Linked DNA regions of Homo sapiens: regions 2, 3, 4 and 5 are each linked to region 1. Evidence: promoter capture Hi-C in 16 types of primary human blood cells and fetal thymus (Javierre and others, 2016). All regions are on one chromosome and are shown on one strand. The core of a region is centred on a gene start or on the middle of the fragment in contact, and the rest is flanking DNA. Distances in the headings are between cores, read along the strand shown. Region 1 holds the start of YPEL2 (yippee like 2). Region 2 overlaps VMP1 (vacuole membrane protein 1). Region 3 overlaps PTRH2 (peptidyl-tRNA hydrolase 2). Region 4 overlaps CLTC (clathrin heavy chain). Region 5 overlaps CLTC (clathrin heavy chain).

Evidence for each region. Contacts are between HindIII fragments. The CHiCAGO score rates a contact against its expected background, and 5 or more counts as called.
Region 2: a fragment that was not itself captured here is called in contact with the fragment with the promoter of YPEL2 in region 1 in 1 of 17 cell types (endothelial precursors); the score reaches 5.4 in endothelial precursors.
Region 3: a contact is called between a fragment that was not itself captured here and the fragment with the promoter of YPEL2 in region 1, in 1 of 17 cell types (endothelial precursors). The highest score is 5.3, in endothelial precursors.
Region 4: a contact is called between a fragment that was not itself captured here and the fragment with the promoter of YPEL2 in region 1, in 4 of 17 cell types (M1 macrophages, endothelial precursors, M2 macrophages and 1 more). The highest score is 9.2, in M1 macrophages.
Region 5: a fragment that was not itself captured here is called in contact with the fragment with the promoter of YPEL2 in region 1 in 3 of 17 cell types (M1 macrophages, M0 macrophages and M2 macrophages); the score reaches 8.7 in M1 macrophages.

Annotation. Positions count from the first base shown.
Region 1 is chr17:59,329,200-59,333,782 of GRCh38, reverse strand. It overlaps YPEL2 (yippee like 2), which reads right to left and starts at 2,128. Exons shown (of 5, transcript NM_001005404.4): 1 at 1,959-2,128. RefSeq lists an enhancer at 1,071-1,632 and a silencer at 1,843-2,362. The HindIII fragment of the contact is 8,765 bases long and covers 970-4,583 here.
Region 2 is chr17:59,723,669-59,728,251 of GRCh38, reverse strand. The region is part of intron 1 of VMP1 (vacuole membrane protein 1); the gene reads right to left. Among named protein-coding and RNA genes, the nearest start is that of VMP1, 18 kb to the right of the region's middle. The HindIII fragment of the contact is 1,296 bases long and covers 1,370-2,665 here.
Region 3 is chr17:59,700,145-59,704,727 of GRCh38, reverse strand. The region is part of intron 1 of PTRH2 (peptidyl-tRNA hydrolase 2); the gene reads left to right. Among named protein-coding and RNA genes, the nearest start is that of PTRH2, 5.0 kb to the left of the region's middle. RefSeq lists enhancers at 439-942, 943-1,447. The HindIII fragment of the contact is 1,147 bases long and covers 1,964-3,110 here.
Region 4 is chr17:59,644,799-59,649,381 of GRCh38, reverse strand. CLTC (clathrin heavy chain) reads right to left here. Exons shown (of 32, transcript NM_004859.4): 3 at 1,716-1,984; 4 at 981-1,142. Among named protein-coding and RNA genes, the nearest start is that of CLTC, 27 kb to the right of the region's middle. The HindIII fragment of the contact is 880 bases long and covers 2,645-3,524 here.
Region 5 is chr17:59,625,388-59,629,970 of GRCh38, reverse strand. The region is part of intron 1 of CLTC (clathrin heavy chain); the gene reads right to left. Among named protein-coding and RNA genes, the nearest start is that of CLTC, 7.8 kb to the right of the region's middle. The HindIII fragment of the contact is 1,137 bases long and covers 2,044-3,180 here.

The sequences.
Region 1 (4,583 bases), core at 879-3,378:
GACAAACTATTTTTAAACACTACCCAGGTCATCTTTATACACATTTAAGTTTGAGGACCTCTGCCTTAAAGCGATGCTTCTCAAACTATGGGTCAGGACCTGCTTGGTCAGGAAATCAAATTAATGGGTCATAACCAGCAGTTGATTTTTTTAAATGAAGTAGAAAAAAAAACCTTTAAAACAGAGCACACTGCAGGGAGTAAGGGTAATTATTGTTCTCTGAAACTTATTTCAGTTACAGACCTGTATGCAGTGCAGGTCCCACTCAAAGTCTGAAAACCATGCTCCTAGAGGGAAGAAGGAAAACAGTTTTCTCGCGCATGGTGTTTATTTTCCATTTTCCACCCCTAACTCTAAGCTTCTTGATTTTGGTTCAAGCACAGAAATATCAAGACAGATCCAAGAAATGCTGTCATTGAATGCTAACCTGCGGCGGCAAAGCCCAACTGAGGAAGCGGATGAGGCTCCCACTGCACTCCTGCCTGAGATCCTATCATGGAGCTGGGGACAGGGGATGGTGCCAAGGGGGAAGTCTGCACAGCTCTCCCCAGGCTGGGCCTGTTTCTGGGGAAAAGAACTTGCAGCCACTCAAAACACAGTTTAGAAGAATGAAAATGTTCCTCACCGGAGGCAAGACTCAGCCATTCATAGGCCCTGTGGCCCCCAGAGGCAGGAAAGCACGGGGGAGCAATAACCATGTGAAATCAAGTCCCACCCCAGAGCCAGTGAGGCGGTTTACTGAACTTCTTGCATCTTTAATGCTCTGTGAGGCACAGGGAAGCTGACCGCTACCCTTCTTGCCCAATGCTTTGGAACAAGGAAGAACAAGGAAGGAAGGGCAGGGAGGAAAAGACAGCTGTCTCGTTAGCCTTCAGATTCACCAAAGGCAAGGACTCACTCAAGAGCCTCCCAAGTTGCAAGGACAGCAAATCAGCAAGGAGGCCAGAAAGCAAAAACCCCAGCAAAGCTTCGGAGCAGTTCTCTGGGGCCTTTCACAGCGGCGGGACTGGGGGGCGGGCGAGGGTGCAGCTCCGCTCCAAGCGGAGGAAAACAAGACACTCGCTCACCTGGCTTTTTAAACTCTCGCAGCTAAGACTGAAGGCAGAGGTAGCAATCTTCCGGACAAGAAGTCCAGAAGAACAGGTGTCCCCCACCCCCGCACGCCCCCAAGACCGGAGAAAAGCCCACCACTCCGGGAAAGACACCAGAGGAGGTCGGCGGCCAAGCAGGGTGAACTGGAAGTGGCGAAAGGTCGGGGCCGCCCCTAAGCGCCAGCTCCGGGGAGGCGCTCGCGGCAGAGGCTCCCGCGTTCCGTCGGGCAGGACCTCGCGCCCACCCCCTTGGCAAGGACACCGGGGAGGCGCCGAGACGCGGCCAGGGAGGAACTCGGCTGCGGTTACCTCGACCCGGGTCGGGGCAGACGACGCGCTCCGAGAAATTTCGAGGGCGCCCAGTCCCACAGTGGAAGGCCCCCAGGGCGGCGCCCCTGGACCTAAGTGTCCCCAGGACTCTCCGAGGGAAACGCGGCGTCACGAGAGGACGGAGGGCGTCCCCAGCCCCACCCGGACCCCATGGAGTCCGAACCCATGGGGACGACGCGGAGGAGGAAGCGGCGATTCCAGCTCCGCACCCCCGCCCCAAACCTGGCCCCGCAGACTCGCCCAGCCCCTGGCGCGCGTCTCCCGCCCCGGCCGGGGGTCCCGCGCCCTTGGGCTCCCTCCGCGAGCGGCCGCGGGCCCGGCAGTGTTTGTAAACAAACCGGTCACGTGGCCCGGCGGCCGCTCCCCGTCCCCGGCGCCCACGGGGACCCCACGCGGAACCGAGGGCGCCGCACCCCCAACCCCGCGCAGGCCCGGCCGGGGGAGTCCGGAGGCCGGGGCCGGGGACCCAGAGCCCGAGCTGACAGCGCGCCCCACGCCCACGCGCGCCCGGCCCGCGCCGCACTCCGGTGCACTTACCCGGCGACAGGCGGCCCTGTCCGGCCAGCGTGGGGCTTGGCTCCGCTGGGGTGCGCAGCGGCGAAGCGCGGCCCGGCTGGGGCTCGGGCTCCCGGCACGCTCTTAAAGCCACAGTCTCCGCCACCGCCGCGGCCGCCACTCCGCATCCCTCCGGGTCCGGGCCGGGGGCTACCCCGTGATGGACGCGCCCCCGCACCTATCCCCTCGGCTCAGCACATAGCAACACGCCGCGGGTTGGCCGGGCGCAGCCGCAGCCCATCCGCGCAGAGCCAATCATCAGAGGACGGAACTCCGCCCCCCGCTTCCCCGACCGCCCACTCCCCCACCCCTCGGCCCGGCCCAGCCTGGGCTAGGGGAGAGCGGCTGGTTAGGGTCCCGCCCGTCCCGGCAACTTGCCGGAGGGCAGGGACCCAGAGTGCCAAAGCTGGGTGGGCTCTCAGCGCCTAGGAGGAGGCCGTTTATTTGAGTTTGGGGTTTGTCCCCAGGGCAGGGCTGGGATTCCCAGAACCTGGGTTGTATTTTGGGGCGGGGGGATTTGCAGTGCATCTCCCTGGAGGCTCAAGATAGTCATTCCTTTCTTACGTTTTAAACCTCGCCCTAAGCCATAGCCTAAGTTACCAGAAGTGGCCCTCAGGCCCCGGGTAATTGAATTTAAAATGATAGGGGGGAGGGGGGAGGGATAGCATTAGGAGATACACCTAATGCTAAATGACGAGTTAATGGGTGCAGCACACCAACATGGCACATGTATACATATGTAACAAACCTGCACATTGTGCACATGTACCCTAAAACTTAAAGTATAATAATAATAAAATTAAAAGAAAATGATAGTGCTAGTTGCACCCAGCCCACCCATGCCTTGCTCAGAAGCCAGGCATTTCCCCTCTTCTCTCTGCCCTGCTAGTAATTTCGGCGAATTAAAAGTACGAAAGGGGCTTAGTGGAATTGAAGACCGCCCCATTGCTGCTAATTTTCCATGACTTTCAGAGGCAGATGACGGTAATTAGAGTGGGATGGTCCGAGTGACCAGAGGGGAGGAGTCCACGTTCTGGGTCACCGGGGTGGTGCTTTTCAAGGAAGAGCAGGTTAAAAAATAACCTCGTGGCAGTCAGGAAACCAGGGAGGCACCAGGTGGGTGGAGTGGGGCAGTTTCCCAGCAGGAAAACAGGACAGTTTGATAAAGAATGTTGGCACGGACAAGGTGAACAAAGCAGGTCCTGCCTTTCGCTCAAGACACTGGGGTTCCGCAGTTCCTCTGGGAACTCTTCCTCCAAGGAAACTAGTGTTTTACTGTGCAGCCATCAGGATGTGAGGTGCTGCAGGAGGTGCAGCTGACTCTCCGCCTTCCACACACTGGTTTGCACGTACACCCAGAATGCTGGCTCACCTGCATCTCCACCCAGCTGTTTTTAAAATATGCTTGGTCAACCAAATTGTATTCAGTTAATATCTATTGCATGTGAATCCAGTCACCAAGGTTAGTAAAAACAACAAAACACCCCAAATACCTCAGTATTGTGGGGCTGACATATCAGCCTCAGATTTGCAGTTTCAGTGTAAACAAAGGCTATGTCCTGGTTCACAACTGACTAGTTTGGAGAGTCTAAAACGGGGGGGGGGGGGGAATGCTTTCAGATGAGAGGAATCACAAACAAGAACTGTTTAGCATTTAATCCTTAATCTAAGATGTGATGGATTCTTTAGATTAGTAAGAGCTTGCCGTCTCGCCCTGATCTGCTTCTTGAGCAAGTTTCTTTGTCTCTCCAGGCCTAGGTTTCCACAGTTTAAAACAAGGAGGGTTGAAATAGGATGATCTCAAGTCCCTTCCAGCTCTGAAATTCTAAGTAGGGCCAGAAAGTCATGTTTGTTACAACGTTTCCGCAATATTGTGTGAGCGAATATTTGTGTTGCCACATCACCACTTCCTAACAGTAGATGCTGAATTAGTTTAACACCCTAGGATATTGGTATGTTATGTAACAAGACTGGTGGCTACTGTTTCTGTTTAAATAAAAGATAACGTTAGCTAAAGAAGACTAGCCTGATACAGTGGTTTCAGAGGGAGCTCTGAGGACCCCTTCAGGCCTGCTGTGTGTATGCAGGGGACTGGAAGAGGCCCCAGACCTTAGGGTCAGGAGACAATAAAACCAGCCAGCCGGCCAATAACAAAAAAAGTGTTAAGCCTGATCATGCCTCCTCCCAGTCAAAAAGAGCCAAGCATTTTGAGCTGGTAAAGGAGAAGGGAGAGGTGAAACAATGAAGTAAGTGAAACAAAGTAATAGATGCAACTTCTCTGAACCCAGAGGGGGCACTTGAATTGTCCCTCAATACATTTTCTCAGTGCCTACTATGAGCAGAATTCCCTGCTTGACTTGGATGATAGTATTCTGAAGAATCTACTGAGAGGAGAGACGCTGAGGCCAATGGAGAGTTGGTGAAATGAGACAGATGTTTATCCTGGAAAGCAAAAAGAGATGGAGAGAGAGAGAGAAATAAACAGATCTGTTCAGAGTCAGCCAAGGCTTAAACAAACAAACAAACAAAAACCCTTGCTGGTAAAAGTTTGAGAGATTCCTGGCCTCACAGATTATCAGCCTGCCTTTGTCAATGGAACAGTACCTC
Region 2 (4,583 bases), core at 768-3,267, 390 kb before region 1:
TTGATAGCTGGTGCTAATTTATTCCTTGTCTAAACTCTAACTATTGTAACTATTTTCAAAATTTATGCCTCATAAAGGAAAACAAGTGAAAGCCTATAAAAATCACTAGAAAAAAAAGCACACATTCATCACTGTAATATTCTCCTTTTTAAGATACAATCCATTTGTGTATACCTTTGTTTTGTTGTCTTCAATGCTGAATAAGCAAATAAACACATCAAGAAATAAAATATAGGTTTCTATTAGTATAGATAGCCTTAAGTAGACAATCATAAGATTTAAAATCTGAAAAATCTGGATTTGATCCCAGATTTGCCACTGATTAGTTGTGTGATCTTAAGCAAAGTTTCATTTTCTTTAGTCCTTCATTGTTTGGATTCACAAAATGAGGACAATAATTGCCACTTTCAAATGATTGATGTGTAGATGAAATAATCTATGTATGCATGTGTATGTTTGTTGATACGCATGCATGTGTGACTATAAATACCAATACATCAAAAGAGTAGGAGGTAATAAACGTACAAAATGCCTAAACTATAAAAAACAACTTCACAGCACATGCCTCATTGTTATTGTATCAGTGATGCCAGTGTTGTTCATTCAGCTCTCATTTTAAAAGTTCGGGGGTCTCCAATGGGCACTGAGGATACAAATATTAATAGGATAAGGAGGTCCCTGTCCTCAAGAGGATCACAGTCTGGTAAAGAAGCCAAATGAACACAAGAAATCAATTATAACAGAATGGGATGAAATAGGCATTTTAATAAAATTAGATGAAAAGACAATGTTTTAGTCAGGTCTTAAGAGTCTAACAGGGCCAGGCATGATGGCTCACGCCTGTAATCCCAGCATTTTCGAAGGCTGAGGCGGGCAGATCACGAGGTCAGGAGATCGAGACCACCCTGGCTGACACGGTGAAAGCCTGTCTCTACTAAAAATACGAAAAAATAGCCAGGCATGGTGGCGGGCGCCTATAGTCCCAACTACTCTGGAGGCTGAGGCAGGAGAACGGCATGAACCCAGGAGGCAAAGCTTGTGGTAAGCGGAGATCGCGCCACTGCACTCCAGCATGGGCGAGACAGAGCAAGACTCCGTCTCAAAAAAAAACAAAAAAAAACAAAAAGTCTAACAGACTGGAGAAATTTGTAAATCTCTCTAAACATCAGTTTTTCTTAATTTGTAAAACAGAGATAACATGACACACATCAGAGGGTTGAGGATTAAACAAGATAATGTACATAAAATACTAACATATTGCCTCACCTTTCACGTGACCTCAATATATACTAGCTATTATGAAGATCGTGAAGTAGAAAGCACTATCGGAGCTCACAGGACAAAATATTCAGACCAGTTCATAGAAGCTTAAAGTTTGACTCTGCAAACTTAAGTCATACTTGTGTGAAGATTCAGCCAAAAGATAATGTAGCCCAAGCAATTACAAAACAATAACAACAAAAACCAAAGATGCTAGAGCATCACAATAGGTTTACAAAATGGAAATCTATTTCACAAATCTGAATTTTATTAATAAAAAAATCAACTGAGGATGTTTGAAATGGAACCATATAAAAAAGTTAATGATTTTCCATCTGCCAGTCATTTAACTTGAAGCTATACTTAAGTTCTGCAAATACTTAAAACTATGTGGGTTTGGCCAGGTGTGGTGGCTCATGCCTGTAATCCCAGCACTTTGGGAGGCTGAGGCGGGCAGATCACCCGAGGTCAGGAGTTCGAGACCAGCCTGGCCAACATGGCGAAACCCCGTCTCTACTAAAAATACATAAATTAGCTGGGTGTGGTGGCTTGCGCCTGTAATCCCAGCTACTCGGGAGGCTGAGGCAGGAGAATCGCTTGAACCCAGGAGGTGGAGGTCGCAGGGAGCCGAGATTGCACCACTGCACTCCAGCCTGGACAACAGAGCAGGACTCCATCTCAAAAAAAACAAAAAAAAAAACAAAAAAAACTATGTGTGTTCATATTCAGCCAAATCCTATAGGCAATATCTTTTAAAAAATATTTTGAAGATATTTAAACATTTGTAAATATCTAAATATATGATAAATATTTACAAATAAGATATTTAAGGATATTTAAGATATTTTAAAGCCAGCCATTCATCTCTATCACAGTAAGTAAAATTTATTTAATTTGTGATGAAAAGATAAACAGGGCACAAAAAGGTTTGCCTTATAAATAACATTCTAAAACCTTTCTCCTACAAAACACTGATAATTGAACTCATTTGCCCCTATTTACTCTTTCCCATAGTGTCATTGTTTTACCCAAAACATTTTGGGTCTATGAGTGCGTACTTATAACAATGGTATTGCACAATTATTTGAAGGTTTTGTTTTTAAGCTATTGCAACAGGGGTTTTCATTTGAGCAAATAATGTGCTCTTACACAACGTGCTAAAAAAGAACAGCATACTGACATTTCCTTCTCCAAAATTCTCTCTGGAAAACATAATAGTCTGAAATTTTGTTTTGTAAGAAATAACCCAGGGAACTAAGTTATTTTCATCAGTCTATTTCTTCATAAACAAAATAAATTTGCAGTTTAAAAAACAACTTTTCAAAACCTTCTTGCCATTCCCAAAAGAAGGAAATATAGCATAAGGCCAAACAAGAGAGCCACTGAGGTTCTAAACAGTTAAGCTTATAAAAGCATCAAAACCCTTTTTTTTTTTTTTTTGGCATTTTGACCATTTAGCATGATTTAAAACCATCCCAAGTATGAAACAGCCAAAATAAAAGACCCACTAGTGTTTTAATAGTTAAGCTTATAAAAACTTCAAAGCTTTTCTGCATTTTAACCATTTTCTAAAGGATTTAACATTTTTCCTTGCCTTTCAAAATTCCCTTGAAAACATCCTCACTTTGCCTCTTCTTCCCCCAATCATACGTACTGTAAAACTTTGTAAAACTGCAGTGCCTCCAGAATCATCTGCATTCTTATGATCTGTCTAAGAAGCTGAACATAACTGAAGAAAATCACACAATTACAAAGCCACTTCAAATTCTTAATTCAACAAATATATACCAACGGTCCATTATGTGCCAGTTATTATTATTATTATCATTATTATTTTGAGACAGTCTCGCTGTGTTGCCCAGGCTGGAGTGCAGTGGCACAATCTCGGCTCACTGCAACCTCTGCTTCCCAGGTTCAAGTGATTCTCCTGTCTCAGCCTCCCAAGTAGCTGGGACTACAGGCACCCACTACCACACCTGGCTAATTTTTGTTGTTTTTTTTGTTTTTTGTTTTTGTTTTTTTTTTTGAGACAGAGTCTCATTCTGTCGCCCAGGCTGGAGTGCAGTGGCACCATCTCGGCTCACTGCAAGCTCCACCTCCCGGGTTCATGCCATTCTCCTGCCTCAGCCTCCCGAGTAGCTGGGACTACAGGCGCCCGCCACCAGGCCCGGCTAATTTTTTTGTATTTTTAGTAGAGACGTGGTTTCACTGTGTTAGCCAGGATGGTCTCCATCTCCTGACCTCGTGATCAGCCACCTCGGCCTCCCAAAGTGCTGGGATTACAGGCGTGAGCCACCGTGCCCTGCCTATTATTATTTTTGAGACAAAGTTTCACTCTGTTACGAAGGCTGGCGTGCAATAGCACAATATTGGCTCACTGCAACCTCTGCCTCCCGGATTCAAACAATCCTCCTGTCTCAGCCTCCCAAGTAGCTGGGACTACATGTGTGCACCACCACGACAGGCTAATTTTTATAGAGATGGGGTTTCGCCATGTTGTCCAGGCTGGCCTCAAACTCCTGGGCTCAAGTGATCTGCCCATCTCAGCCTCCCAAAGTACTGGGATTACAGGCTTGAGACACTGTGCCTAGCCCAGTTATTAAGATGCCAAAGCTCAAACCTAAAATTGATGATTCCTGCTAATAAACTTTTTTTTTACTTTGACAACTATTTCATTCTTTGTTTTTGCTCCCAAAACGTTTTACCCTCCTTTTTCCTTTCTTATTTTCAGACATTGACTTTCTTTTTTCTTTTTCTTTTCTTTCTTTTTTTTTTTTTTTGAGACAGGGTCTCACTCTGTCCCCCGGGCTGGAGTGCAGTGGTGCAATCATGGCTTACTGCACCCTCGACCTCCTGGGTTCAAGTGATCCTCCCACTTCAGCCTCCCGAGCAGCTGGAACTACAGGAACATGCTAACATGTCCAGCTAATTTTTGTATTTTTAGTAGAGACTGGGTTTCCCCATTTTGCCCATGCTGGTCTTGAACTCCTGGGCTCAAGTGATCCCCCTGCCTTGGCCTCCCAAAGTGCTGGGATTACAGGCATGAACCATATCCAGCCCTGTTACATTTTTTTAAATAACAAAAGCAGTGAGAGAATTCACCAATCCCACTACTATTAAGCCTACTAAAATATTTACACTTCACCCATGTCAGCATTTTTCTCTCTTTATGACTTGGCAGTGTCCTCTACTTACCAAAGGCCATTATGTCAATATATATATATCATTTCCTTCCTCCTTCTCAGGGACTTTGCTCCTTCTGTTCTCACTGTGTAATCAATCTTTACCCCTTTATTCTCACCAGAAAATTAAGTACTCAGTAT
Region 3 (4,583 bases), core at 1,288-3,787, 370 kb before region 1:
GTCTGTGCAGCCCTGTCACCGTATTTAGGCACTTGAGTGGAAGAGCACTGAAACTAGGTGCACTACAGCTTACCCTATGTGACCCTCCTACTCCTGGCCACTCCATGTCAGTCTCCTTTGATTCCTAATGTTCATTTCCTCAGGATTATGTTTTAGTCCTTTCTTCATTCTACATATTTGTCCAAGTGGCCTCATACTCTTCCATCTCTTCAGTAACTTCAATTATATGGTAAGGTCTCTCAAATCTATATTTCCAGCCCAGACCTTTCTGACTTTAAACTGATATATCCTAGACCTTTCTGTCCTTTAAGCTGATATATCCTTTTTTTTCTTCTTTCTAGATATCTCTGAGATGTCTTTTGTTCAGAACAAAACTAATTCATTATCTTTTCCATTCAAACCTGGTATTTCACCAAAATTCTCCATTTGTTCAAATCTAGCTGTCATTATTAACTTCTCCCTTTCTTTTGCCACCAGACTTCCTGTCAGTCACTAAATCAGACAGGTGTACCTTAGACACTTTTTTTATTTCTCATTCCCACTACTGTTGTCTAAATGACCATCATCTCATCTAGACTGCTGGGAGAGGCCTGATATAGTAATGTTAAGAACAAGGGCTCGGCAGGGCATGGTGGCTCACGCCTGCAATCCCAGCACTTTGGGAGGTCGAGGTGGGTGGATCACCTGAGGTCAGGAGCTCGAGACTAGCCTGGCCAACATGGTGAAACCCCATCTCTACTAAAAATACAAAAATTAGCCGGGTGTGGTAGCACATGCCTGAAGTCCCACCTACTTGGGAGGCTGAGGCAGGAGAAGCACTTGAACCCCAGAGGTGGAGGTTGCAGTGAACCAAGATTGCACCACTGCACTCCAGCCTGGCAATAGAGTGAGACTCCGTCTCCAAAAAAAAGAACAAGGGCTCGGCAGGGCATGGTGGCTCACGCCCGTAATCCCAGCACTTTGGGAGGCCGAGGTGGCTGGATCACCTGAGATCAGGAGTTTGAGACCAGCCTGGCCAACCTGGTGAAACCCCGTCTCTACTAAAAATACAAACAATTAGCTCGGTGTAGTGGCGGGTGTCTGTAATCCCAGCTATTTGGGAGGCTGAGGCAGGAGAATCACTTGAACCCAGGAGGCAGAGGTTGCAGTGAGCCGAGATTGTGCCATTGCACTCCAGCATGGGAGACAAGAACAAGACTCTGTCTCAAAAAGAAAAAAGAACAAGGGCTCTGGATTAAGACGACCACTTATGAGCTGGGTGAATTTAGGCAAGCTATAACTTGTGTACCTCATTTTTCTACATCCGAAAAATGGGGATCATAATTATATATAGATGCTTCTCAACTTAGGGTGGGGTTATATCCTGATAAACCCATCATAAATTGAAAGTACCATAAATTGAGAGCCAGGCACAGTGGCTCATGCCTGTAAATGTAGCTACATGGGAGGCTGAGGTGGGAGGGATCATATGAGGCCCAGAGTTCGAGACCAGCCTGGGCAACATAATGAAACCCCTGTGTCTTAAAAAAAAAAGTTTTTTTTTAAATTAGCAGTGTGTGGTGGTATGTGCTTGTAGTCCCAGCTACTGGGGAGGTTGAAGTGGGAGGATTGCTTGAGCTCAGGAGTTCGAGGCTGCAGTGAGCTATGATCACTCCACTGTATTCCAGCCTGGACAAAAGAGTGAAACCCTGTCTCTTAGAAAAGGAAATAGAAGTTGGAAATAAATTTAATACACCTAACCTACCAAACATGGTAGTTTAGCCTAGCCTACCTTAAAGGTGCTCAGAACACTTAATTTATTAGCGTACAATAGGGCAAAATCATCTAACATAAGGCCTACAAGTGTTGAATATCTCATGTAATTCGTTGAATACTGTACTGAAGGTGAAAAACAGAATGTTTGTATGGGTAAAGTTTCTACTGAATATGTGTTGCTTTTGAACCATTGTAAAGCCAAAAAGCTTAAGCGAAACTACAGTAAGTCCATGACCAGCTCTATTTACCTTGAAGTGCTGTTAGGCACATTAAAGAAGACAATTCCTATAGAGTGTTTAGCCAGTGTGTAGCAGAACACTTCATAAATGTTAACTATTACTACATTATAGCAGCCTCTGAAATGATCTCCCTGTATCTATTGCCAACTGCTAGTCAAGGCTCAGGTATCTTTTAGAACAGGCGTCCCTGTGGCCTGTTAGGAACTGGGCCGCACAGCAGGAGGTGAGTGGTGGGCAACTGAGTGAAGTTTTATCTGTATTTGCAGCCACTCCCCATCGCTAACATTACCTCCTGAGCTCCGTCTAATTAGCGACAGCATTAGATTCTCATGCGAGTGTGAACCCTGTTATGAACTGCCCATGCGAGGGATCTGTGTTGTGTACTTCTTATGAGAATCTAATGTCTGATGATCTGTTACTGCCTCCCATCTCACCCCCGATGGGACTGTCAAACACCTTTTTATAACATTTACCAGTCTTGCAATTATTTGTCTTCACTACTTATCTATGAACAGCTGACAGTGGCCCATATTCATCACTATATCCTCAGCTTAACAGGGTGTATGGCTGGCACATAGATAGCCAGTAAACATTTGTTTTATTGAACTTAACTTCTCTTGGTCTGAATTTCTTCATTTTTGATATGGCAGTAATCCTCACTTCTCAGTGGATCAAATAACAATACATGTCAAAGTATTGTGGAAATTTTGAGCTATAAAGACAAAGTTTTGGCCGAGCACAGTGGCTCACACCTGTAATCCCAGCACTTTGGGAGGCCGAGGTGGGCGGATCACGAGGTCAGGAGATTGAGACCATCCTGGCTAACACGGTGAAACCCTGTCTCTACTAAAAATACAAAAAAAAAAAAAAAAAATTAGCCGGGTGTGATGGTGGGTGCCTGTAGGGAGGCTGAGGCAGGAGAATGGCATGAACCCGGGAGGCGGAGCTGGCAGTGAGCTGAGATCGCGCCACTGCATGCTAGCCTGGGCGACAGAGCGAGACTCCATCTCAAATAGACAAACAAACAAACAAAAAAACCCCAAAGTTTTAAAACAGCATGAAAGAAATTCAAAATTAGGATTGGACCATTTCAAAACCATTGCTAAAATGTAAGCTTCATTAGAGAAAGGACTTTTTCTGCTTTGTGCACTCCTGTATCCCTTAGATTCTAGAACAGGGTCAATCAGTATTTGTGGAAGGGAAGCAGTATATCATAAAACTAAAAGAATTGAAAAAGTAGAAAGTAGTCACACTTCTATTTCAGATACCCATTCCTATAGCTATGTTCTTTGTAATTGTTCGTCTCCAAAATCAAAACCCTATGCATCGCTCTAAGTCTTTCCAGTTTACTTTCATTACACCTGTTCTTCAACAGCATGTCTAGATAAATAGCATGCATCACTTTATTGTCCATAAATCAGTCTTTGATAATACAGGTTGCTTTTTATCAGGTAGGCCAAAAGAGAAAAATGTAATAACACAGGTTGCATGGTCTATCATGTCAAACATTCTTACCCTTATCCTAAATTCCCTTGTACCACTGTGTCTTGGGGCGTGCTCCTGGCATAATTTAAACTTGGATACATCCAACTACCATTTCAGTAGGAGGGGAGAGCAAAGGATGAGTGTGGATGGAGGTTAGTTTGTATGTCTGGAGGAAGTGATTAGTAGTTTTAGTCTTTTGGCTTCTAAGTACTACTGGAGAAAATCACAAATAGTATGTTGCCATTAAAAAGTCATCATTAATCTTAACCATGCTTTCAATATTCCTCTGCAATCCTGCCATATTTTGCCACACCTTTTATTTCCGCCTTTCTCTTCTCTACTCCATTTTAACTTCTGTCTGAGCTCCTTCCCTCAGGGGGAATACTTTCCTGCCTTCAAATCCGTGGACCTACTTGATTTAAAACTGAAATTGGGAAAGGTGTCCCTTTTCCTTTCCAAAACCACATCCCTTTATAAAGTCTTTCTCTATCTTGAGCATTTACCTGCCTTTCTTCTGGCTTCATCCTATTAACATTTAAATATGCTTATCCTTTCTTCTTAGGAGAAAAAAAAAATTGCTTTCCTCTGTGTCGCCTTATATCCATTGCTTTTTCTTTTTGCTCTATCTCTTGACCCCACCTCAAACGAATTTCTGCCCCACCAAAGACAGTAACCCCTTTTATGTTAAAATTAGTGGAAAGAATGTTAATATAATGCCCTAACTTTAAAGAAGAACATAAAGGAAATTTATAAGTACTTCCAGGGCTGTCATCTATGCCGTGCCAATCATGCAGTGCACAATTCCAAGGGCACCACTTTACATTACAAATACAGTGCATTACAAATATAGTGGCCCCATGTTTATAAATGCTTAGATAATACTCCACTAGAAAAAGAAACTGATAGTTGCTTGCCACATAGAAGCACTGTGAATCCAGCAGCCTCATTTGTAGACTGATATAAGTGTCTTATTGGTGACTCAAATATTATGAACAGCTTTGCCGAAGTAGCAAGATTTTCTAAAATAATAAAGGATGACATTCCTTTGTTTTATGATAGCTACACTTCTGGAAAATTCAGTATGGACAGTCTCCGACTTAGGAT
Region 4 (4,583 bases), core at 1,835-4,334, 310 kb before region 1:
GTATTAGGATTTCAGAGATGCTACTCTGGTAGTGGAAATAGTAGTCAAATCGAATTTCCAAGCATCCAGAAATGCAATCATGGATCCAGAAGTGTCCTCAGAGTTCTGTGGAATAGTTGTTGGCTGGGACCCTGACCACTGCTCATTTTCCATTATTTCTCCTCATTTCCCAGTCTTGGTTTTACAGCCTCCCCAGCTGTTGTAAACTATCCAATATCCTTCACTAAACAGACCATTGCTCTAATCAACCAGACCTTGTTTCTATTACCTGCAACTAAGTCTAATATACAAAGTACTACAATCTGTCCAGGCGATTCCAATGTGTAGTCATGGTTGAAAACCTCTAACTTAAGTCAGTGTTATTCACCTGTAGTCTACATTGCCTCTATATCAAGCCATATAAGGTATTTAAAATGCAGATTATATTGGGAGACCAAGGCGGGAGGATCACTTGGACCCAGAGGTTTGAGACCAGCCTGGGCAGTATAGTGAGACCCTGTCTCTACAAAAATACAAAATTTAGCCAGGCATGGTGGCACATGCCTGTAGTCCCAGCTACTCGGGAGGCTGAGACAGAGGGATCACTTGAGCCCAGAAGGTCGAGGCTGCAGTGAGCCCATGACTGCGCCACTGCACTCCAGCCTGGGCAACAGAGTGACACCCTGTCTCAAAAAGCAACAAATAAACAAAAAAAATTATAGGCAACACCTACTAAATCAAACTCTCTAGATGTACAGCATATAAATGTGCACTTTAGCAATCAAAGAATATAAACAGCCAACAGAACGAGTTGTGAAAGAACATTATTCATTTTAGACAAGTATCACTAGATGCAAAATTTGAACAAATTAAGTCACCACAAATGTGAATACTAAAATTACTTAGGAAGGGAGAAGGCTATTTTGAAATTAGATGACTAATTCATAGCAGAAAGCCAAATACAAGTTCTCATTAAAATAATTACCAAAGCCAAAACTTACCTTCCCTCCAGCTTGGCCCCGAACTGCAAAACAAAATAACGTTGATTCTTCTGCATTTCCTTCCATCTTAAACTGTGCAAAGCTAGCTGCATGTCCTTCAATGGGCTGAGACACTTTCCTATCTACAGAATATAGCTGCATAGCTCCCACCACACGATTTTGCTATAAAGGATCAAAGAGAATAACGTTTGAAGACCCATAAATCAAAAACTCTCAGATTCATCAAGTAATGAAATAATTAGAATGCTTTGTCATCTTTAGCAGGATTTATAATTATTTGTCACTTCATCTCTCACTGTAGATTTGATACTTCTTAACTTAAAATCAGCCCCAAACATTATCTTGTTAAAGCCTAACATAAATGTTTAAAATATGCCTCATATACGTCTTAAACAAAAAGGTATAGAAGCATTCATTCTGCAGTAAATACTCCATAATAAATCCCAAATCATTCTTACAGAAACTCAATTTCTACTCAATCTCCACAGAAGAGCTAAAAACGCTTGGTAAGAGCATTCTGAAATTATATGTCAGTATAGCAAGGGAGCGAGGAAGAAGAGAAGGGAGGGAGGAAGGAGAAGAGAAGGGATGGGAGGAAGGAAAAAAAAAGTCTTCCAAAATAAGTGAAATTCAACAGGATTGAGTATAGAAAGACCTAATTTCAAAATCAAACTGCATTCTGGGCACAACCGTGTTCTAAACCTCTTCTTCATAAAAAAATAGTTAAAATGTTACCTGTGCAGATATACCAGTCAGAAGTAACCACTTTTGTTTTGCATCTGTACGGTAATTGATAATCTGGCACCCTGCAAGGCTAGAATGGCGATCAAACATTTTCACTGGCTGAGACTCTCCTTCCATACTCCAGTGATAAACTGCATTATCCGTAACAAGAGCAACCGTATTCAAAGAGATCCATTTCCAAAAGGTGACATCATCAGTCATGGTATGAGCCTTCATTTTACTTTTCATTTCAATGTTAAAAATCTGAAGAGTTTTCCCAGCTAAAAACAAAATCAAGAATTATAAATCATTAAAAGAGTAAAGTTTAGAATGAATACCTACCTAGACTAGCTCTGTCACTTCCAAACAAAAATAGTTCTATTACGAGACGAGTTGCATCGATACAGCAGCAACCATTAAAGAGGTAACAGCTAAGACTAAGCAAACAATCTACATCTACGTTTTAAGCAAAAACTACATTACCTCTAATAAACACACTTTAAACAGATAGTATGACTTCCATGGAATTCTAAATCCCAACTGAAAATAAGCCTAATGAATAGTTTTCTTAACAATAATTGAAAACAAAGCTGTCACCTTCATACTTGTAATTAAGTATGTTTACTTTACACATAAACTTAGTTGCATGTACACAAGACAAAGCAACTCTGATAACAAACACATGGGGGAAAGAAAATGTATTTTTTTAAAGGCAGTCATCTCTCATCTAAATAAATCTTGTGGAAACTGCTTTTTAAAAAGAGGATCTGCTTCAATTCTGTCTTGTTGCCACTAGCACGTAAGAGAAGTGCCTGCTACATTTAACCGGCTTAAGATAACAAAGGGAAGGTAGAGGTGCTGGAGGAAAGGAGAGGGAGACAAAGGAAGAGGATAGTTTCAGATGCTGTTAATATACTGGAGATAAGAACAAAGTGCAAGCTTCATCCAATTAAGAAAGCAAGCATTTAGTTAAAAAAGGATGAAATTTGCCTTGAGTGTTAAGAGTCCACTGAGTCAGATGCAAAGGCTTGTACTTGTAGTTTGAAATCCATCAGTTCAAAATGTGATTTGGTATAAATTAATAGAGGCCAAAGCCTACAACTATCACTAGGCTATCAAGATTAGTCTTTAAAGACTAAGAAAAACACCATTCCTGAGACACAGAGAATCTGGCTCCTGAAGGACCAAAATTTTAAGATTCGGGTGCTGGGGGGACAAAGAAGGGGGGCAAAACATACAGCTTTGTACTACAACCCTCCGTAACACATGTGCAAAAATTTCTTTCATAAAATGAAGAATGTTATTCCCATCCCACACAGTATGTAAACCACAACCAGACTTGAAAAATTGTGAGAGTTACAGTCCTGTTTATAAAAAGAAGCCAAGGGGTTCAAAACTGGCTTCAGAGGGAAGCAGTATTTTGGAATGACTTACTTTCCTTTGCTGCCTTCCTCAACTCCCAGATTATTAGGGGTTGGAATATATACATAAGTGGGGTGGTCTTGGGGAGGGGGACAAGGGATGACAGCTTGACTCCATAGTGCAGACATATAGGGACAAATCTATGATGTTATTGTACAATGCTCCGAAAATCTTTTCAATTTATTCTTTTTATAGAACAGGACAATAACTAATACAATCTAATTTAAGATAACTCACCATCTGCACACATAAGAAAGCATTAAGAAATGTGATAAGATAACAATAACATTAAAAATAGAAAAGAATTTTGGCAAAATTAAAATGATGGCCTTTTAATAGAGAGGCATGGGAATTGCTAAGGACCTGAATTTAAATTCTTTAAAGAGTCTGAAGGAAGCTTAATACCCTAAATAGAAGTAATAGAAGTAAAACACTTACTGTCACAAAACATCTGGTCCTATGTGAAAGCTGGACCATTTTTCCTCGAGATGAGATGAGTTTCTATCTTAGATATGTGATAGTGACTTATTTGTTTGAATATCCTAGTCCTACCCAACCCTATTCACTCTCCAACTAGTATTATTACTATATACAAAGTTTAAATCATGTAAAGAAAAGTCAAAGTTCAGCACCTCTAATAACTTAGTCACAAATTTATCAACAAATTACTGCGAACTTGAACTCTTCTTTCTTCTATCAAAATGAAAAACAAAGCAGGCAATCGAATGCCTTTTTAAGAGTCAGTTTGTCACCGAGCCCTCTTAAAAACATCTGTTTTAAAGGGTCAATTAGTCTCATTCTAAAGTTCAAAGGAATACAGCTTCCGTGACAGTCTAAGAGTCTTTGAACTCTGTTTAGACTTAAGCTGCACAGTTCCCTTGTTGGGACAATTAAAAAGTTAGTCTGAATAAACTCAAATACCCTTCACTCAAGAGCTTTAATATCCACCTAAATACAAACACACTTTAAACAATTACTGTAAATTCAAGCCATTTCTAGAACCCAATAATCTAAGTGAAACACAAGCCCGAAGTATAAAAAAAAAAGCACAGAATCAAAGGCAAGTTTATCATCATAACAAAATTCTGCAATGTTTAGGTGCTAATATTAGTAAAGTATGTTCTATTCCAGAATATGAATCACTAATTTCTTTCCTCTGTAGAGAGATATGTTTAGCACAGTTTTATACCAGATACAAAATTTAAATGCATTTATTCTAAAACTTAAAATTATTCTAAGTAGATATATGTTAAGACATTCCACAGATACATTCCAAGTAAAAGTAATTAAAGTGGTTTAAATCAAGTTCGGTATTAGCAGATCTATTTTCTTTAACCAAACTTAATCAATATACTTAAAAAGGTAAACCCTAGTTATTGTACTTGCATAAATACATAGGAAGAGCTGGCTGGGCGTGGTGGCTCACGCCTGTAATCTCAGCACTCTGGGAGGCCGAGG
Region 5 (4,583 bases), core at 1,363-3,862, 300 kb before region 1:
CATCAGCACTGGAAAGTCATCTCCATTTCACAATGCTTTTCAAAAATCCATTACAGAGCAATCATAATGGTGCAGTTTTGTAACATCAAATCTATTTGCGTTATCAGGAGAGTTGTTTTTCTCTTATCTTTCTATGTAAATTATGATCTCTAGGCTGGGTGTGGTGGCTCATGCCTGTAATCCCAGCACTTTGGGAGGCCAAAGCAGGCGGATCACAAGGTCAGGAGTTCAACACCAACCTGGACAACATGGTGAAATCCCATCTGTACTAAAATTACAAAAATCAGCCAGGCATGGTGGCGGGCACCTGTAATCCCAGCTACTTGGGAGGCTTAGGCAGAAGAACCGCTTGAACCCGGGAGGCAGAAGTTGCAGTGAGCCAAGATCATGCCACTGTACTCCAGCCTGGGCGACAGAGCAAGACTCCATCTCAAAAAAAAAAAAAAAAAAAATTATGATCTCTAGAAACATGCCCGAATGGACTGCTTTTCACGGGATATTTAAATCATCTGCTTATAACATCCAACAGTTCCAACTGTGAGGCCATACACAGGAGAATTTTAGATGTGTAAAATTTGTCTCTCACTAATCCAGTTGATTTCAAGCCTACAGCAGCCTTTGCCAAACAGCATTCTGGTGCTCAGAACAGAAGCAACTGTGAGAGGACACAATACTATGGAGATTCAGTAAGGCTTTTAATAAGGAGACTCTTTCCTGAGGATATCTGTGGTAAAATAAAGAAACCTGCCTTAGATTTTCATAGTTCAATATGACCAAATATAGAATATTGCAGAGACTGGAGAAAGAGATGGGTTTTTGTAAACCATGTTCTCTCTACACGTTTTTCCCCCTTATTATTCATCTTTAAATAATGAGATCTATCCAAAGTCAGCTGTTTGCCAAGCAGAGCATATATACTGACAGTCTTTAGCTTCAGTCTGTCCACTTTGGTGGTTTTTTTTAAGCCACCTTTCTCAGATGAGCAGCTAATCAGAAATAAATGCAAGTTGGCCAGGCACGATGGCTCACGCCTGTAATCCCAGCACTTTGGGAAGCTGAGGAGGGTAGATTATTTGAGGTCAGGAGTTTGAGACCAGCCTGGCCAACATGGTGAAACCCCATCTCTACTAAAAATACAAAAAAAATTCGCCAGGCCTGGTGGCGGGCCCCTGTAGTCCCAGCTACTCAGGAGGCTGAGGCAGGAGAATTGCTTGAACCTGGGAGGCGGAAGTTGCAGTGAACCAAGATTGCACCACCGTACTCCAGCCTGGGCAACAGAGTCAACTCCCAATCCAATTCTCGTTTTTTCGTCTTCTATGACTCCCAGTTTCAACCTAGGGTCATGAAAAACTGTCATCCCTGAGACCCCCAGTGTGCATCACTGAGGAACTCCAGAAATCGACGGATGCAGAAAATGAGAAATTAGAGAGTCTGGTGTAACTTCAAGATCTTGGCTTCAATAACTGGGTAGATGGTAGTTTTTCTCCTTTAGTACGGCACATATATTCAACTCAAGTGGACAAAGGGAAACTCTTCCAGGGTGGAGGGGAAGAACTAATATTCGAGTGCCTGTAAGGGGTTAAGGGGCTAAATATTATACTACAAATACAAAAACATACTGTAGTCTAACTTTAAAATTGCCAGGAAATATTGTTTTAATAAATGAGGAAGTTGAGACAAGTTGAAAACCTGACATAATCAATAGATAAGCCCAGATTAAACATCTGAGACATTTTCCAGAATAGCACACTGCAGAGTTTTTTAATGTGACAAAATATGGCTTTAATGGATCTGGTTCCTATTCTTTCAGCAATAATCTTTAAAACCGTCTTACTTCAGAACTTGAAGAAAATCCTTATTTACCTAAGGATTAGGAACAAGAAGTATTAACAGTACTGGCAGTCTGCCTCCAAAGCACAACCCTACAAGTCTGTAACCATTTTCCTTTCTACCATGATGCTACTCAAAATGAGCAAATATATTCCATTGTCACCTTCATTTCCTATCCCTTTCATGCACAACTGCCTTCGTTGAGTTCAAGCTTCTATTTCTTGGCATAAACACAAAAACATGAATTTACAGTAAAATAGAAAGCAGAAGTTTCCTCCTTTCACAAGTGGCTTCAGACTGGAACACACTCATTCTTTTCAGTAAGAAAAAGTCTATAGAAAAGTGTGACAAGTTCAGTCTTATGAGAGGGATGCAGACAATCCTGGTTACAAGTTAACCGGATCCCAATCATCCTGCACAATTTTCCAATAGGAAACAGGATAAAGTCCTTAAAAAAGATACAGCTAAATAATCATTCAAGGCATAAAGTCAGATGTTAGTTTGCTGTCTCCTACTTTTCTCATAATATAAAAAATATTTCACGATAAACAAACGACAGTACTACTAGAATCAAAGAACATCACAGCATAGATATAAACAATTGTGGTACATTTTGCAATTCAAATGATACAGACCATTTACCAAATGAGGCAATGAGCCAAATGAAAGAATAAATATTAAAAGTCTGACTGCTCACTAGCTGTGTGACTCTAAAAGTTACCTACTATGAACTTCAGTTGCCCAATCTCTACAATAAGGCTAATCTGACCTAAGCACAAGGGTTCTCTTGCTAATTAAATGAGATAATAAACATTAAATATTTAATACAGTTCTTGGCACGTAATAGGTGCTCAAACAACTATAATGGCCCATGTATTTTGATTTTATGGATTAGATTACAGGACAATTAAGATTTGAATAGTTACTGCCTCAAAAATAGGACAAGGCTTGGTGTCTCACACTTGTAATTTCAGCACTTTGGGAGGCTGTGGCAGGTGGACTGCTTGAGCCCGGGATTTTGAGACCATCCTGGGAAACATGGCAAAACCCCGACTCTACAAAAAAAATACAAAAATTAGCCGGGTTTGGTGGCGCACGCCTGTAGTCCCAGCTATTTAGGGAGCAGAGGTGGGAGGATTACCTAAGCCCAGGGAGGTCAAGGCTGCAGTGAGCCTTGATCATGCCACTGCACTCCAGCCTGGGCAACAGAGTGAGACCCTGTCCCCACCCCCCAAAAAAAGTAGGACAAAAATATCTTAAATTATGTCTTAATTTAAGGAGATAATACAAAAGAAGAGACTCACAAAAGTCTGACAGATGGGTTTTGCATAACACATTTAGGTCCAAGCTTTCAGCCATCTTTTGAGTTAAGAGCATTAGCCATAGGCACTTAACCAAGAAGCAAAGACAAGACACCCAGAGCTGTAAACTTTGCTGTGGCTCAGAAGACAGGTTTATTTCATGAAGTAGTTTTGGCATGGCATATAGTGCATGAACTTAGAGAAACAGCCTCATTCTAATATACAGGACTAAAATATCAGCCATGAACCTACTGCTCATCTAAGTGAGAAGATTCACTTCAACACTACCACCCTAAAAAAGGACACATACAACACATACAATAACTCTAACAATCGCCTGACCGGCATTCCATATGGGTATTTTATCCGATATGATTCATTAAGTTTTTTTTTCAAATATGTCTGTTCAAGGAACCCTAATTTAAAATGTACCAGTGGCACACAATGAGACTCGTGGAACATAATAAAAGATTTATTTAAAAGTTTCTTTTTGGGGGGCAGTTTCAGAGTGTAATCAACTTTGTATCATATCAATATTTGTATTAAACTGTGCACAATATCAAATGTTCGAACACATAAAAGATCCACAATCAAGTAGACAACATCAATGGTTGGAATAACAAGTGTACAGCCTTTGCCAACTCATCAATGGAAGCATGAATGCAAGGTGTAGTCCATCTTGTTTACCACCTTGTCCCTAGAGTCTAACACAGTTCCTCATCTGCAGTAAGTACTCAAATCTTAGGTAAATGTGTTAACCCCAAATACTTATACACCATAAAACACTGGATCTGTAAATGAATATTGTGTCATTGGTTGAGATACCTGAATAAAATGTACTGGACAAAAATTATTTAGCCAATAATTAATGCTCCTAAAATGCTACGTAAAGTACTTTCACATACATGATCTCAGATCCTCATAATAACTTTGTGAGATAAGTATGCCCATTTCCCAGAGAAAAAAAAGCAAGAGGTTAGACTTAACCTGTGTTGTCCAATATGGTAACCACAAGTCACAACCTACATACCATAATGAGCACTTGAAATGTGGTTACCGTAATTTTAAAGTAATTAAAATTAAATAATAACCAGTAAGTGATTCAATTACTGGAAAACTTAAGTATGTTTGGGATCACTGAAGTATTGCATATCTGCTTTCCTTTTTCTTCATTTTTGTTTGTTTAATATAGAGACGAGGTCTTAACTCTGTTACCCAGGCTGGTCTTGAATTCCTGGGCTCAAACAATGCTCCTACCTTGGCTCACAAAGTGCTGAGTTTACAGGCATGAGCCACTACCCCCAGCCCCAAATCTGCCTTTCTAACTGTAAATTTTATGAACTCTAAATACGGACCAGGATTTCCAAAGAAAATAGGGTCTGAATTGATATATGCTCTAAGTACAAAATATACATAGCCGGGCACGGTGGCTCACACCTGTAATCCTAACAC